3 separate regions of the Homo sapiens genome follow, and all the other regions are linked to region 3. Evidence: promoter capture Hi-C in 16 types of primary human blood cells and fetal thymus (Javierre and others, 2016). All regions are on one chromosome and are shown on one strand. Each heading gives the region's core, a stretch centred on a gene start or on the middle of the fragment in contact. The rest is flanking DNA. Distances are from core to core; before and after follow the strand shown.

The links. The method cuts DNA at HindIII sites, captures the fragments that hold promoters and counts their contacts. A CHiCAGO score of 5 or more calls a contact.
Region 1: a contact is called between the fragment with the promoter of KRTAP24-1 here and the fragment with the promoter of KRTAP23-1 in region 3, in 2 of 17 cell types (neutrophils and naive B cells). The highest score is 7.4, in neutrophils.
Region 2: the fragment with the promoter of KRTAP15-1 here is called in contact with the fragment with the promoter of KRTAP23-1 in region 3 in 3 of 17 cell types (neutrophils, total B cells and naive B cells); the score reaches 7.1 in neutrophils.

The regions. Positions count from the first base shown.
Region 1 is chr21:30,279,851-30,284,323 of GRCh38, reverse strand. It overlaps KRTAP24-1 (keratin associated protein 24-1), which reads left to right and starts at 1,374. Exons shown (of 1, transcript NM_001085455.3): 1 at 1,374-3,015. The coding sequence starts at 1,392. The coding sequence ends at 2,156. The HindIII fragment of the contact is 2,357 bases long and covers 1-2,073 here.
Region 2 is chr21:30,438,810-30,443,454 of GRCh38, reverse strand. KRTAP15-1 (keratin associated protein 15-1) reads right to left here and starts at 3,180. Exons shown (of 1, transcript NM_181623.3): 1 at 2,586-3,180. The coding sequence starts at 3,127. The coding sequence ends at 2,714. All of the region lies in intron 3 of LOC105372772 (a long non-coding RNA gene), which reads left to right. The HindIII fragment of the contact is 9,658 bases long and covers 2,356-4,645 here.
Region 3 is chr21:30,346,605-30,351,140 of GRCh38, reverse strand. It overlaps KRTAP23-1 (keratin associated protein 23-1), which reads left to right and starts at 2,535. Exons shown (of 1, transcript NM_181624.1): 1 at 2,535-2,742. The coding sequence starts at 2,535. The coding sequence ends at 2,732. The HindIII fragment of the contact is 4,066 bases long and covers 1,819-4,536 here.

The DNA.
Region 1 (4,473 bases), core at 125-2,624, 66 kb after region 3:
AGAAAATGGAGATCTTTTTTAAAAAAAAGAGAATATCTGTAGGTTTAAATTGCTGTGCATTTGAAAAATCTGACTGAAAAGTAACCGAAAACAGTGAGAGAAATCTCATAGTTTGCTATAAAGAGAGTTAATTTAAAAAACTATCCCTATAGCTGATTATACCTGAAGAAGACTGTTCTATTCTCTGTCTGAACTCTTCACAGTTAATAAATGCATTGCTGTTTCCAATTCAATAGAGGCTGGAATTATAAATTATAATTTTATATTTGAAGAACAAAATTTCAGTTCTTCAGTATAAATTAAAATCTTTAAAAAAATTCTTTAGCCTTCACCCTGAGTAGTAAAAAGTGCTATTTCATATATACAGTGCTTGTAAGAACTATACAGTTTATTCAGATAAAACTTTTAAAGAGTTATTTCCTTTCATTGACATAAACTAAAAATAACTGCATTTTTCAACACAGGAGTAAAATAAAGTGTAGGTGCAAAAGAAAGCAAATAAAGAATAAGAGAACTTATTTGGGGAAAAACGGGGAAAATATTTACATCTGACAGCAATTGGGGTTTACAGCAGGCAATGGAACATGTGATATGTAATCTTAGTCAATTAGGAAGGTATCATCTTGCAAAGCTGGGTTTATTTGATAGTGCATATTGCCGACACTCTTTAAGAAGGGATTTAACAGAAGTCTTGGTTGCTTAGCAACAAATGCCCCCTGGGAACAAGTTCATTTTTAGCCAGGTGTTGGTCACCAAGTTTCCCAAGTATTGCTGTGAGTCTTACCTATGAACTTCTCCTAATACATTACATGAGAAGCCGTTACCAGTATATGGCCCTGCACAGGTAAGAGTATAGCACATATTTGGAAAACTGATTCTTGAAAGGTCAATGCCTGCTTTTGAGTAACCATGTTGAGACAGACAAACTACTTGACTTATTTCAGAGTATATGATTAAGTCCTTCAGTGTTTTCCAGTAGTTAACAGCGTGGAAAAATACAGGTTACTTGCTTTACTTGAGTCCTTGTGAACCTTTAAATAACCATGTTGCAGAAGCCCATAGACCCATGAACTCTTGTTAACCTCTGATTGACAGATGAGAGTTTGCCTATTAACATGAAAATCACTATTTGCTGAAGGTATGGTCTACAGATGATGAGTGATGGGTGATGGTCAAAGTGGTGATTATGGATACTTTGAAGAATTAAAATAAACTTATTTTTACACGTGTGAAAACATTAGCCTCTGTGGCTAACCAACACACTAATGAGATGTTGCTGTGTTATTGCCCCAAGCAGACAGAAGAAAGAGTCTGGAGAGGCTTTTGACAATCACCAGGGAAGGTATAAAACGTCCTTAGGCCACAGACACACTGCACAGCGACCACTGAGCATGCCTGCAGGCTCCATGTCTACTACAGGCTATCCTGGGGTCTGCAGTACCACATCATACAGAACTCACTGTTATATCCCAGTGACCTCTTCTGTTACTCTTAGCTCCAGTGATTTAAGCCCTACCTTTGGACACTGCTTACCCAGTAGCTACCAAGGAAATCTCTGGCTCCTGGATTACTGCCAAGAATCCTACGGTGAAGCACCAACCTGCAAATCTCCCAGCTGTGAGCCCAAGACCTGCAGTACCACTGGTTGTGACCCGTCAAACTCCTCTGTGCCCTGCAACTCCCCATCAGCAGGCCAAGTCTTCAGTGTCTGTGAAACTACCAACGTCAGCCCCAGCCCCAGCTGCAGCCCAAGCACCCAGACCAATGGGTATGTATGCAATTGCCACATACCCACTCGAAATGCATCCAAAGCCTGCCAAACCCTCCGCAACGGTTCCAACTGCTTTGGACAACTTAACTGCTTATCCAAGAGTTTCCAAACTCTAAACCACTGCAGATTGAGTACTTTGGGGTATAAAAGCTACCAAAATCCTTGCTTCATACCCAGCTACGTCTCACCATTATGTTATATTTCCAACAGCTGCCAACCCCAAAGCTATTTAGTGAGAAATTATCACTATTCAAGCTACAGGCCTACGAGCTGCCGACCACTGAGCTATTTATCTAGAAGCTTCAGATCTCTGAGCTATATACCCAGTACCTTTCCACCTCTGAGGTATTTGTGCAGTGGTAGCAGACCTCTGAAATGCTATTGACCAACTTCCAGAATTTATAGCAGCTGGAAATTGCCCAATGGGGAAGATTCTACTAAGTACTAGAACGTCTAATTTTCTGCTGAATCTCTTTATTCAGCCTAAGAATCTTGTTACATTAAGTTCAAATACAACTCCCAGGTTTATTAACCACAGCCAGTATCACCTGCTAGGTTTTCTTTTTTCTGTTGTTCTGTTATTGCTCTTTGTACTAAAAGCTGACCCTGAAGGTAACATCATTATTTCTGAGATTTATTACAATGGACTTACCGAAGAGACTCCATTTGAAATACAACCATCACCGGCTTTCTTACTTTGGCTGTCACTGTCACTTGTCTGACAGTGTGATTATCACCTACCTTTCCTGATGAAATGGGGCCTCCATGGTTTGACTGCAGATTCCAGCATGCAAATTCATTCGGATGGCTTTGATTGTCATTAATATTTTTGTCAACTACCTAACTAGCACCTTGCTAATAAGCCGATAGAAAACACTATCTTGAGCATAATAAGTTGAACTATTTCATCCTTTTCTTACTGATTGATTGTAAGAACAGGCAAATAGCAATGGTGACTAGAGCTCAAAAATAGAAGACTTCAGCAAATCTTCTCTTCCAGAGAAGCCATAAAACAAGATTCACTGGTACTCAGCTTTTGTTCTCCATGCCTAAGAAAAAGCCTCAGAATTAGCTAAAGCATGAAAATTATTTGTTGAAAGAAGAACAAATACTGTTAGAGACCCTTTACAATTATGTGTAATCTGCGTTTAGGATTCTCCTATCATCTTGCCTTGCCAATTTATTGCATTCTGACTCTGGAAAATGTCCTAGTTCTTAGTTAATAAACAAATTTCTGTCTGGAAGTAATGGCTTTCCTTATGCTTTATTTCACATTTACTAAAATTTCATCCATATTCTGGGCAATATACATAGCATTGTCAAAATGCTGCTTTCCTGCCATTTAGTTTAGAGTCTAAATTAAAGATACAAAGAAGGGGCCAGATGCGGTGGCTCATGCCTGTAATCCAAGCACTTTGGGAGGCCAAGGCAGGTGTATGACCTAAGGTCAGGAGTTCGAGACCAGCCTGACCAACATGGTGAAACCCCGTCTCTACTAAATACAAAAAAAAATTAGCCGGGCGTGGTGGTATATGCCTGTAATCCCAGCTACTTGGGAAGCTGAGGAGGTAGAATCTCTTGAACCCGGGAGGCGGAGGTTGCAATGAGTCGAGATTGTGCCACTGCACCGCAGCCTGGGTTACAAGAGTGAAACTCAGTCTCAAAAAAAAAAAAAAAAAGTAGAATATGGAATCACAAGCTTCTGACTTGTTTTTTTCTGTTTTTAACATGTTATGTTTATCTCACCTAGAATGTCTACATTAATATTGATATACAGAAATTTGGAAACATAAATCAATTTAATAAAGAGTACATAGAGTATTAAACATACGTTTATTTCTCAGCACAGTATGTGTATTTATTGGTTTTGTAGATAAGGTTTCAGCAGTTAAATAAATTTAATATTGAACCTCCTAGAAGTCATTTAACCTCTGTAAGTTATTACCCAAAAAATGAAAATAAAATCATCTATTTGAGTGGTGAAAACAACATGATAAATACCCTAAGCATTTTTGTAAATAAAAAGCAAATCATATTTAAAGAAAAATAAAATGATCCCCAGAGATGGGTGTAACTGAAGTCTGGAAAGATGGGGAAGAAACCCCAATATCAAGAGTCAATGTTTAAAATTAAAACTCACGAAGCATATAAATAGAGCTAATATGTCATTCATTCCTTCAGTAGGACTACTGTGTGTACAAAGGGCTTTAGAAGAAATATTAATGCACTGCTTCTGCTTGAATGAGGCTGGGAATAATCAAGTCACTCCTGTGTGAGTTCGTTCAATTTTCAGAGAATTCTATTTGCTGAAAATTTCTTCTTCGTATTGAGAAAAATACTGTATAGTTGCCCTTAGCAATGATCTATTGACCATATAGGACCACTTCAATTCCTTTAACCTAGGATAGGTGTTCAAGTATTTGGAAATAATTACTGTGTGTCCCAGATGAGCATTCAGTTGTCCAAACTAAACATACATTTTTTTTTCTCTTTACAAAAGTTAATGGTAAACTTATTCTTTGAGACACTGAGTAGGACTCTTTGGGGATATCAAGATTTATAGATCTTGTTCTCAAGAACTATTTGGAAGAATAATATACTGAAACAAGCATAATACTGTCTTGACTAGTTTAAGTACAATATAAAAACTTCCGGAGAAGAAAAGAAAATCACCTTTTTTTTTTTTTTTTTTGCAAGACTCT
Region 2 (4,645 bases), core at 1,931-4,430, 92 kb before region 3:
AAGCATGCAGTGAAATGAGCTATTGGTTGTTATTATCTCTTCCCAGTAAAAGTTTTCAGAGGCAAACAACAAAGTCCATGTTGACACAGGTGGCCTAAAGCATCATGTTGAGGAAGATGGCCCTGGTTGTCATTTTCTTTCCTCCCATTGTGTATGTTTGAATCAAAGGGAAACAAGGAGCAGTACATTGATGGAAGGCAAGGTGGAGTATGGAAATTTAAAAAAAAAAAAAATCTTCTTTAAACCACTGGTGGCCTTTGGAAACACATGACAGGCCTAAACTGAGGGGAAAGGGAGAAGCTTTTATTGTGGCTGTAAGACTGGTTTTGTAATTATGCAACTTTGGATTACTAACGTGAAATGAAAATTTTTCTTAATATCTTAATGTGATCATAGATCTACCCATTGTGTTGTTCAGGGATTCAGGGAAGCTAGAGCTCTAAATTCAAGTGTGAAGTTCAGTGGTGTTAAAAAAAAATGAAGCAGTTTCCTAATTGTGTCCTGAGTCCTGTCTGCTTAATGCATCAATTAAAATCAAAGATAACCATCTAATAATTCTTGATTTTCTCTTACTCAGTAGTAGGGTTAGATTTTCATTCAGTGGGTCCTCTATAGGGTCTGACATAATAATTGACATTTTGATCAAAGTAAGAAAAACATGAAAAATTCCAAGTTATTATTTATTATTTTACCACTGTTTATCAGTGCTGAGCTTACTTAGGATCAGAATAAATATCATGAAGATGGAAGCTATGCAAATGTACCTCTTAAATCTTCTGCTTCAGGGAGCATTACTGACTGATTGACAGCTACAGCAGTTGGTCTTTGAATCTACCATCACTTCTGTGCCAAGGTTGTGCTGTCATCCATTCTTGTTAGTAAATACTCTTGGCAAGGATGCTAAGGCAGGCCCATTTTGGTGATATGTAAGGCTCCTTTGATGGGTGACTTGCCAAAACTTTCTTAGAATTGCCCTAAAGGAGTTTCTTTTTTTTTCTTATCTTTTCTTTTCTTTTCTTTTTTTTTTTTTGAGACGGAGTCTCGCTCTGTCGCCCAGGCCGGAGTGCAGTGGCACTGTCTTGGCTCACTGCAAGCTCTGCCTCCCGGGTTCACGCCATTCTCCTGCCTCAGCCTCCCGAGTAGCTGGGACTACAGGCACCCGCCACCAGGCCCGGCTAATTTTTTGTATTTTTAGTAGAGACGGGGTTTCACCGTGTTAGCCAGGGTGGTCTCGATCTCCTGACCTCGCGATCCACCCGCCTCGGCCTCCCAAAGCGCTGGGATCACAGGCATGAGCCACCACGCCCGATGGGGAGTTTCTTAAAGAAGTTTCTTCTAGACCAAACTTAGTTCCCTCTGTCCTTCACTGAGGCTAGACATACTCCACAGTAGTATGGCTCTCCCAGACCTCTCCAACTACCTCCCCATTATCTATCACTGGCATTTTCACCAATAAATCTTTTTTATGTTTAATCCCATTTGGCAGCTGCTTTTCAAGGGACTGCAATGGACACAATAGATCAGTAAGATTTGTTATTCTAAAATTAAGTGTAACTTATTTACTCTATTTTCAATAATGGGTTTATATTATTTTCTCTGAGTGTTTTTGAAGTTCTTCTTTGTGTTCCCACTGAATCTTGTCTTCACCCCATTATTCCATTTGCCATATAAGTTATAATTGTATTTGTGGGAACTTCCTGAAGCAGAGAATTTGTGTCTTTGTTCAGCGTAATGCTTGGTATATAATAGGACCTCAATAAATTTTTTTTCAATGAAAGACTAAAACAAAATTTTCTGAAGCAAATATATAAAAAATGCACTTATGAGGGGATTTAAATCTCTTAAAACATGTGATAGGTTATATATTTAAATTTTCTTTGCACTTTGTTTTCTATTCAACAAAATATCAATAAAACATATGAAACAAACAAAAAGTGTACCTAAGGAAGACAGTTGAAGATATGGGATGAATTCACTAAATGTATCATTTTTACTTATTTATTTATTTATTTTTTGACACAGAGTCCCACTTTGTTGCCCAGGCTGGAGTGTAGTGGCATGATCTCAGCTGACTACAACCTCCGTCTCTCAGATTCAAGTGATTCGCCTGCCTCAGCCTCCTGAGTAGCTGGGATTATAGGTGCACACCAGGCCTTGCTAATTTTTGTATTTTTAGTAGAAATGGGTTTTCACTGTGTTGGCCAGGATGGCCTCAAACTCTTGACCTAAAGTGATCCGCCAGCCTCAGTCTCCCAAAGTGCTGGGATTACAGGTGTGAGCCATCATGCCCAGCCTAAGTGTATTGTATTAACAAAATAAAATGGAATGCCAGAATTCATGCCAAAGAAATAAGCTTATTTAAAATATTGTAACTATTTGAAATATATTTGAGTGGAAGAGTTCTGGGAAAATAATGAGAGAAGGATTTTAGAAAGATGATAACAGAAATGATCCTGAGCATTGGCACAAAAATTGAAATTCAAGATATATCTCCTGTCAGATTTAGGAAGGGTCCTAGGTCAAGATTAATTTGTCCGTGTTCAATCATATACTTCCAAGAGGGCTAGGATGCTGAGTCCTACTGATGTAGATGGTCAACAATCACAGATATTGGACAGGCTGAGTGTTGCAGTTCCATAGAGTACAGAAATAATCATGAGAGAATGGAGAATATTCAGTAAGATGATCCAAAAAGGCGAGACCCAAAGGCTGGTTAGTAACAAGTTGCCTGGAAATTCCTGGATGAAAAGGTAGTTGGGTGGTAGAAGCTGGACCCACAGTCCAGAGATTGGAAGCCAGTGCTTCCACAACCAAGAGATCCAAGGCCAGTGTTTCCACATCCAAGGGATCTTATGTAGTTAGTCTGGCGGGGACTGCAGAAGATGGAATTCTTTGGGCAGTAACAGGATGTCTGATAGGATCTGGCCAAAGTGCAGGATGTCTGGCAGCTGGTGGGCTCACAGTAGGTCTCCTGACAGCCATTGTAGAGAGAGGAGCCCAGTTGGCAGGTATTTGGAGAATAGATGGCATTGCTGGGGTAGAACAAATTATAAGTGGAAACTGGATACCTCAGGTAACTTCCAAAACAGCAGGAGGAGAAGTTTCCAGAGCTGCAGTTGTAAGACATGTTAACAGGAGTTCTGAGCTCAGGTGATTTGCAGTGAGGAGCGTGTGTGTGTGAATGTTACCTTCTATACTGGACACTGACATACTCTAGCAATAGGTGTAGTCACAAGTGCCCATTCTAATGAGAACACTTAATTAGGCTGCAGTCAAAATGAAATATATTAACACTCAAAGAATTTTATTTATGAACGTAGACTTCTACATGAAAGAATTTCATTAGTTTTTCAAAGCAATTGTTCATGAAACAAAAATGCCATTTCTCATTCATCTTGCTTAGGTAGAATGAAAACCACCATAATTGTACCTATAAGACTGATGCTTCAAAGGGTCGGGCGCGGAGGCTCACACTTGTAATTCCAGCACTTTGGGAGGCTGAGGCAGGCATATCACGAGGTCAGGAGTTCCAGACCAGCCTGACCAACATGGTGAAACTCCGTCTCTACTAAAAATACAAAAATTAGCCGGGCATGGTGGTGGGCGGCTGTAATCCCAGCTACTCAGGAGGCTGAGGCAGGAGAATTGCTTGAACCCGGGAGGCGGAGTTTGCAGTGAGCCGAGATCGTACCACTGCACTCCAGCCTGGGAGACAGAGCAAGATTCCATCTCCAAAACAAACAAACAAACAAAGAAACAAAAAAACAAAGAAAAAAACTTGATGCTTCATTCATCCTGTCCTTCTAGAAATTGGATCAAACGGCTAAGACACTGAGAGTTCTGGTATTTGTAAAGATCTGAAAAATACCTTGTAATCTGGAAGGGACTTTGATCTTGCTCCAATTTTATAAATTCAATTGAGAACAGAAAAAAAATTTCAATATCTATTCCTTCTTTCAATTCTTTGAACCATTAGAAGAAATAACCCAATAACAATCCTTATTTGGTAGACATGCTAAATGAGTGCCTAACATATTTAAGTTTAGATTTCTTATAACACAAGTAGCTAAGTCACTCTTGTGCACATGAAGAGTTAAGAATGAAGGGTGAAATTTTTGAACAAGTGCTTTGAAGTTTACATTGTAAAACTACTAAAGAAATCCCTTACTCAAAGGTTGATTTGCTTCTTCATAGAAGTCATCAATAAGTTTGATTATAAAAAACCGTTTATCCCCATAAGGTATAAGTAATTTTTGGTCATGTTGATGTTACTGAGAGGAAAATAATAAGCACTATAAGTAAAATGTAAATCGTTAATCTTTTCCTTTCTTTTCTCTCAGAGGGTGACATTTTTACCAGAGAGGGAAAAGAAAAGCAAGAAATGAGGGAAATGTCTATCCCATGTAGTATTCACAGAAAGATAAAATATGTAAAGAATTCATAGTAACAAATGACTTTATAAATTGAAATAAAGGGGTGGGAAGGATACATGATGATAATGTGTAATTGAGAGTGAATGCCTTTGTGACCTCTGATGTATCAGCTGACATATATATTCTGCCTAGAGTACTAGAGTAATGAGGATTTTTCTGGATTCGCTCAGAAAGTTCATCAGAGCAAACTGTAAATAGATATATGGCACGGA
Region 3 (4,536 bases), core at 1,286-3,785:
AAACCATAATTTCCATCCTCCGTTCATCTTCTAAGAGGTGCTCTATCTTAACAGGCCTTGGTTTACTGGTTATGATTAACTTGGGGATATATTCATTATAAAAGATAGATTTAATATTCATTTCACTTTTAATTAGAGGTAACTTTAAAAGCAGAAACATTATTTTCACATGCATACATTTATCTTGAGTGAAAGTAAAATAAAAGTTAATTATTTGATATAAATAATCTATGAGCACCCATGATGTGCCAGGAATTAGGTCAAAGAAGACTAAGCATCATCACTCACCCCACAAAACTTCTGTGCATTGCGTTCTTCGTTCTTCTCACATATGTAATTTCCCTGCAAGCTGAAATATTATTCATCCTGCATGAGCCATTTCAAAGTACATCCCTTGCAAATCCTCCACAGTGTGTGTGTGTGTGAACTAGATTACAAAATACTGAGATCTTTGTTCCTGAAGAGCTAAGTCTAGTTGAGATGAACACCTATCTGATAGGAGGAGTTTGATTTTGGCATTGAGGGATGAGAAGTGTCAACCTAAAAAGAAACTCACATATGCTCTTCAGAACAAATGAGTTTTAATTGGAAAGAGCAGCGAAGTGCAATCTAGGAATGTGCATGCTATGGTGGATGATGGATCATAGGCACATCCAAGGGGTTAGGGCACAGGAGAAGTTTTTAAATACAAAGAGAGGTCCAGGTAAGCTGCTTTGAGACAAGTTCACGGGTCAAAAGCTCATTGTAGGAGTTGACATTTGTTTATTGGTAAAGACAGCTGTTGCTAGGTAACTGTCCTGGAACCTATTTATCTGGAATAGTGCAATTTGAAGAAGGTCTTGTGATAACCCTTGTTACAGGCATGTGTGCACGAGGATTTTTTTTGTGGCCTCTCTTGACCCCATTTTGTTAGAGTTTGACATAAATGACTCCATTTTGGTACATCTTTCACAAAGGGATTTGGTGCAATGTGAGCAATGCATTTGGTAGAAATTTGTTAGCAAAACAATGGACAAAATATTCCATTGTTGCCAGATAAGCAAATATTACAGGAGATTACAAAAAACAATCATCTATGAAACAGTTTGAAAAGATCAAATTACATAAATAGCTTTTTGCTTTCCAATTTCTAAAAGATGCTTGAAGGCAGAAGTTGGATATGATAACAAGTGGGGAAAAAGACATTTCTAATTCCAAGATTTTTCTTTATACCACTGATGTTTTATAGTGGTAAAGATAATTTTAACCACTTAATATAATGGTAAATTTTATGCTGCTTTGTCTTCCTAGAAGGATGAACAAGAGAAGCTCAGCAAGGAGTGAAATGAATCACTCTGGAAGGTGTCGTATTTCTCACTCCCAACTGAGTTGGCAAAAGGTCGGCACCCTATTAAAATTCAAGCTTCTGCAAATGTATTTTATTGGTAGTCAACTCACTAAAGGCATATCAGTTTTTCGCAACTAGTCCCAGTGAAAGTCTGTGTTTGCCAAAGAATTTTCTGCCTCACACTGAAAAAGAATCTAATAACTCCATGGTGGATAAAACATGAGTTGCTTAACTAGGATAAACTGAGTGAGAGGGCAAATAGAAGATAATTTGTAACAAAGCATCTCCATAGTAACTCTGAATACTAAAAAAATAACCAAAATCAATTAAGAAGCTGTCCCCTCAGTTGGCTATATTTGGGGAATTCATAAAAGGGGTAAGAATACTCAAGTAGATATATCAGATGAAATGCAAATATTAACACCTTGGAATTTTTTTTTCACCTGCATACTCAATTGTCCATGTGATTCTGGGAGCAGAAATTACAAGCTTCACAAATTGTCTATATAGCTCTGTGGTTTGTGCTAGCCTTAAAGACAGACACACCTGGGATGACATGGGGTCCATGATTTGTTTGATTTATTACCTGAATGTTACATAACTTTTCCAAACCTCCATGGCCTTACTTCTAAATTGTTTATGACAACTTGTATCTCATAAGATATTTGCAAAGATTAAATCATACCACACTTTTAAATGTTGCGCATGTAGTTAATGCTTAATAAAACATATGTAAATAATGGGGGGTGGGTGGCTGCTGATTACTGTTGGGAGTACATTGCTGGTAAGAATTTGTAGGCTGAAGCTCAGAATACCCACAGTCAAGCTCAGTAAAAGGGGTGGGGAGGCACTGTATGTATCATCACCAATGTTTCTGAAAGCAAACCAAACCTTATTTCTGCAGAGAGAGAGAGAGAGAGAGAGAGAGAGAAAGAGACAGAGAGAGAGAGAGAGAGAAGCCAATGGGCTTCTATAAACTGGAATGATTACACTGCTGTTAAAGACAAATGAATGTGTTGAGTTATAATTATAACCTAGGTTACTTAGTCATTTGATGAAAACACATTCACAAGAATGGGGGGGTTCCCGGATACTGCATCACGCCCAGCAGTGTGAGGGTGTAAACATCACTGGATCATTGGGCACAGGCAGGGACATCAGGGCATCTTCTCAATGCAGCTCAGCTGAACTCACATCTCCTGTCAACATGTCCTACAACTGCTGCTGTGGAAACTTCTCCTCCCATTCCTGTGAGGGCTACCTGTGCTACTCAGGCTACTCCCGTGGTGGCTCCTCGTACCCCAGCAACCTGGTCTACAGCACTGAACCTTTGATCTCCCAGCACCTGCCAGCTGGGTTCCTCTCTCTGCAAGGGCTTTCAGGAGACTTGCTGGGAAACCCCTAGCTGCCAGATGTCCTGTGTGGAGTCCAGCCCCTGCCAGACCTCCTGCTACCGCCCCAGAAGCTCCGTGCTCTGCAGTCCCTGCCAGTCGACTTACTCTGAGTCTCTAGGCTTTGGATCCAGCAGCTGCCGCTCCCTGGGCTATGGATCTAGGAGCTGCTACTCAGTGGGCCGTGGGTCCAGTGGCGTCAGATCCCTGGGTTATGGAGGCTGTGGCTTCCCTTCCCTGGGCTATGGATCTGGATTCTGCCACCCAACATATGTTCTCTTTAGGACATTCCAGTCTTCCTGTTACAGACCAACTTGTGGATCTGGCTTCTACCGATCAACTTGCTAAGGGCTCCAAACCTCCACATTACAATTATTTCTCTCAAAGTCCATCTCAGCTATCATCTGGCTAGAACCTATATTCTACTATCCAGAAAAGATAATTGTTTTAAACTTATTAATATTAAAATAACATTTCTCATAGAATACTCATCTCTTTTTCTTCTGTTTTCTTGTATTTTCCCTTCCTTCTCTAGTTAAAAATGGAGCAAGAGTTGATTTCTTTTTCTTCAAATAAACTCATTTAATCTGATATCAGATCACAAATCTTGTGTTAATTTTCTTTATAAGATGTCTGTCGGGAATTTGAAACCCCCACTTTTTGTCTAAAAATAAAATATTCACTTTGAGGGAAAGGAGTAGGTTCCTTGATAGGCAGAGTTTTCTAACAACAGAGATCTAGTTCCTGGGAATTTCTGCCAAGTAGACTCAGAGATAGGACAGGAGATTATCTCTGTTTTTCTATTCATGGCCATTTAGGCCTAATCAGGACACTTCACTTTGGTTAAGCTACTCATGGGTCTAGTCTAGGAAGAAAATATCCAGAGACAGCAGTGATGTTTTAGCAAGTACTAGCCTGGCTGTTTTTATGAGAACATTATCAAAATCCTTCCTGTAATCTTCCTTCCCAGACATATATAAGCCACAATGAAATTCTGAGGTCAGGATTTTAACTGAGTTCAGTAGCAAGTGTAATGAAACAAATAGTTTAGGTATACATGAAATTAAAGATGTATGCATTCCACTATAATAAGAAGAATATAATATCTAAGAGTTTTTTTTTTTTTAATTTGATGGTTCACTCCCTCCTCCTTTCATTAGGTCACTATAAAGCCATCCGGTGTTATAATAGAAGTCACCTGAAAACTGTCTGAAACCTGGCAGTATCATGCATAGGTGACACGGACTGAGAGATAAGACTTTACCTCTTGATATCCTGGGCTTGTATCTGGATGCAAAACTAGACAGTCCATTATATTCTTACATTAAGTGGAACACAGTCATATACATTTTCAAATATCTAAATGGAGGTGGGTAGCTCATCGTTCACTGCTCTCACAGCTGTTTTCCTTCTCGCTCTTCTTTCTATGGAAATTGGATTTTGTTTGTGCATCCCTCCTCGTCCACACATAGTCCTGCAAATGAACGTGATTATGCCTTAGGCTTAAGGATTGAATTTGGCTACTCTAGAGCGCCCCAATGCCTACTGAAAGTGATTGGCTCAGGAATGAGCATGTGATCTGAGGTAAGCCAATGAGAAACAAGGAGCCATGTGGAACAATGCTTCTGGTAAAGTTCCTTCTCTGGGGTTTCTTTCTTTTTTTTTTTTTTTTTCTGAGATGGAGTCTTGCTCTGTCACCCAGACTAGAGTGCAGTGGCGCAATCTCGGCTCACTGCAAGCCCCGCCTTCTGGGTTCACGCCATTCTCCTGCCTCAGCCTCACGAGTAGCTGGGACTACAGGCGCCTGCCACCATGCCT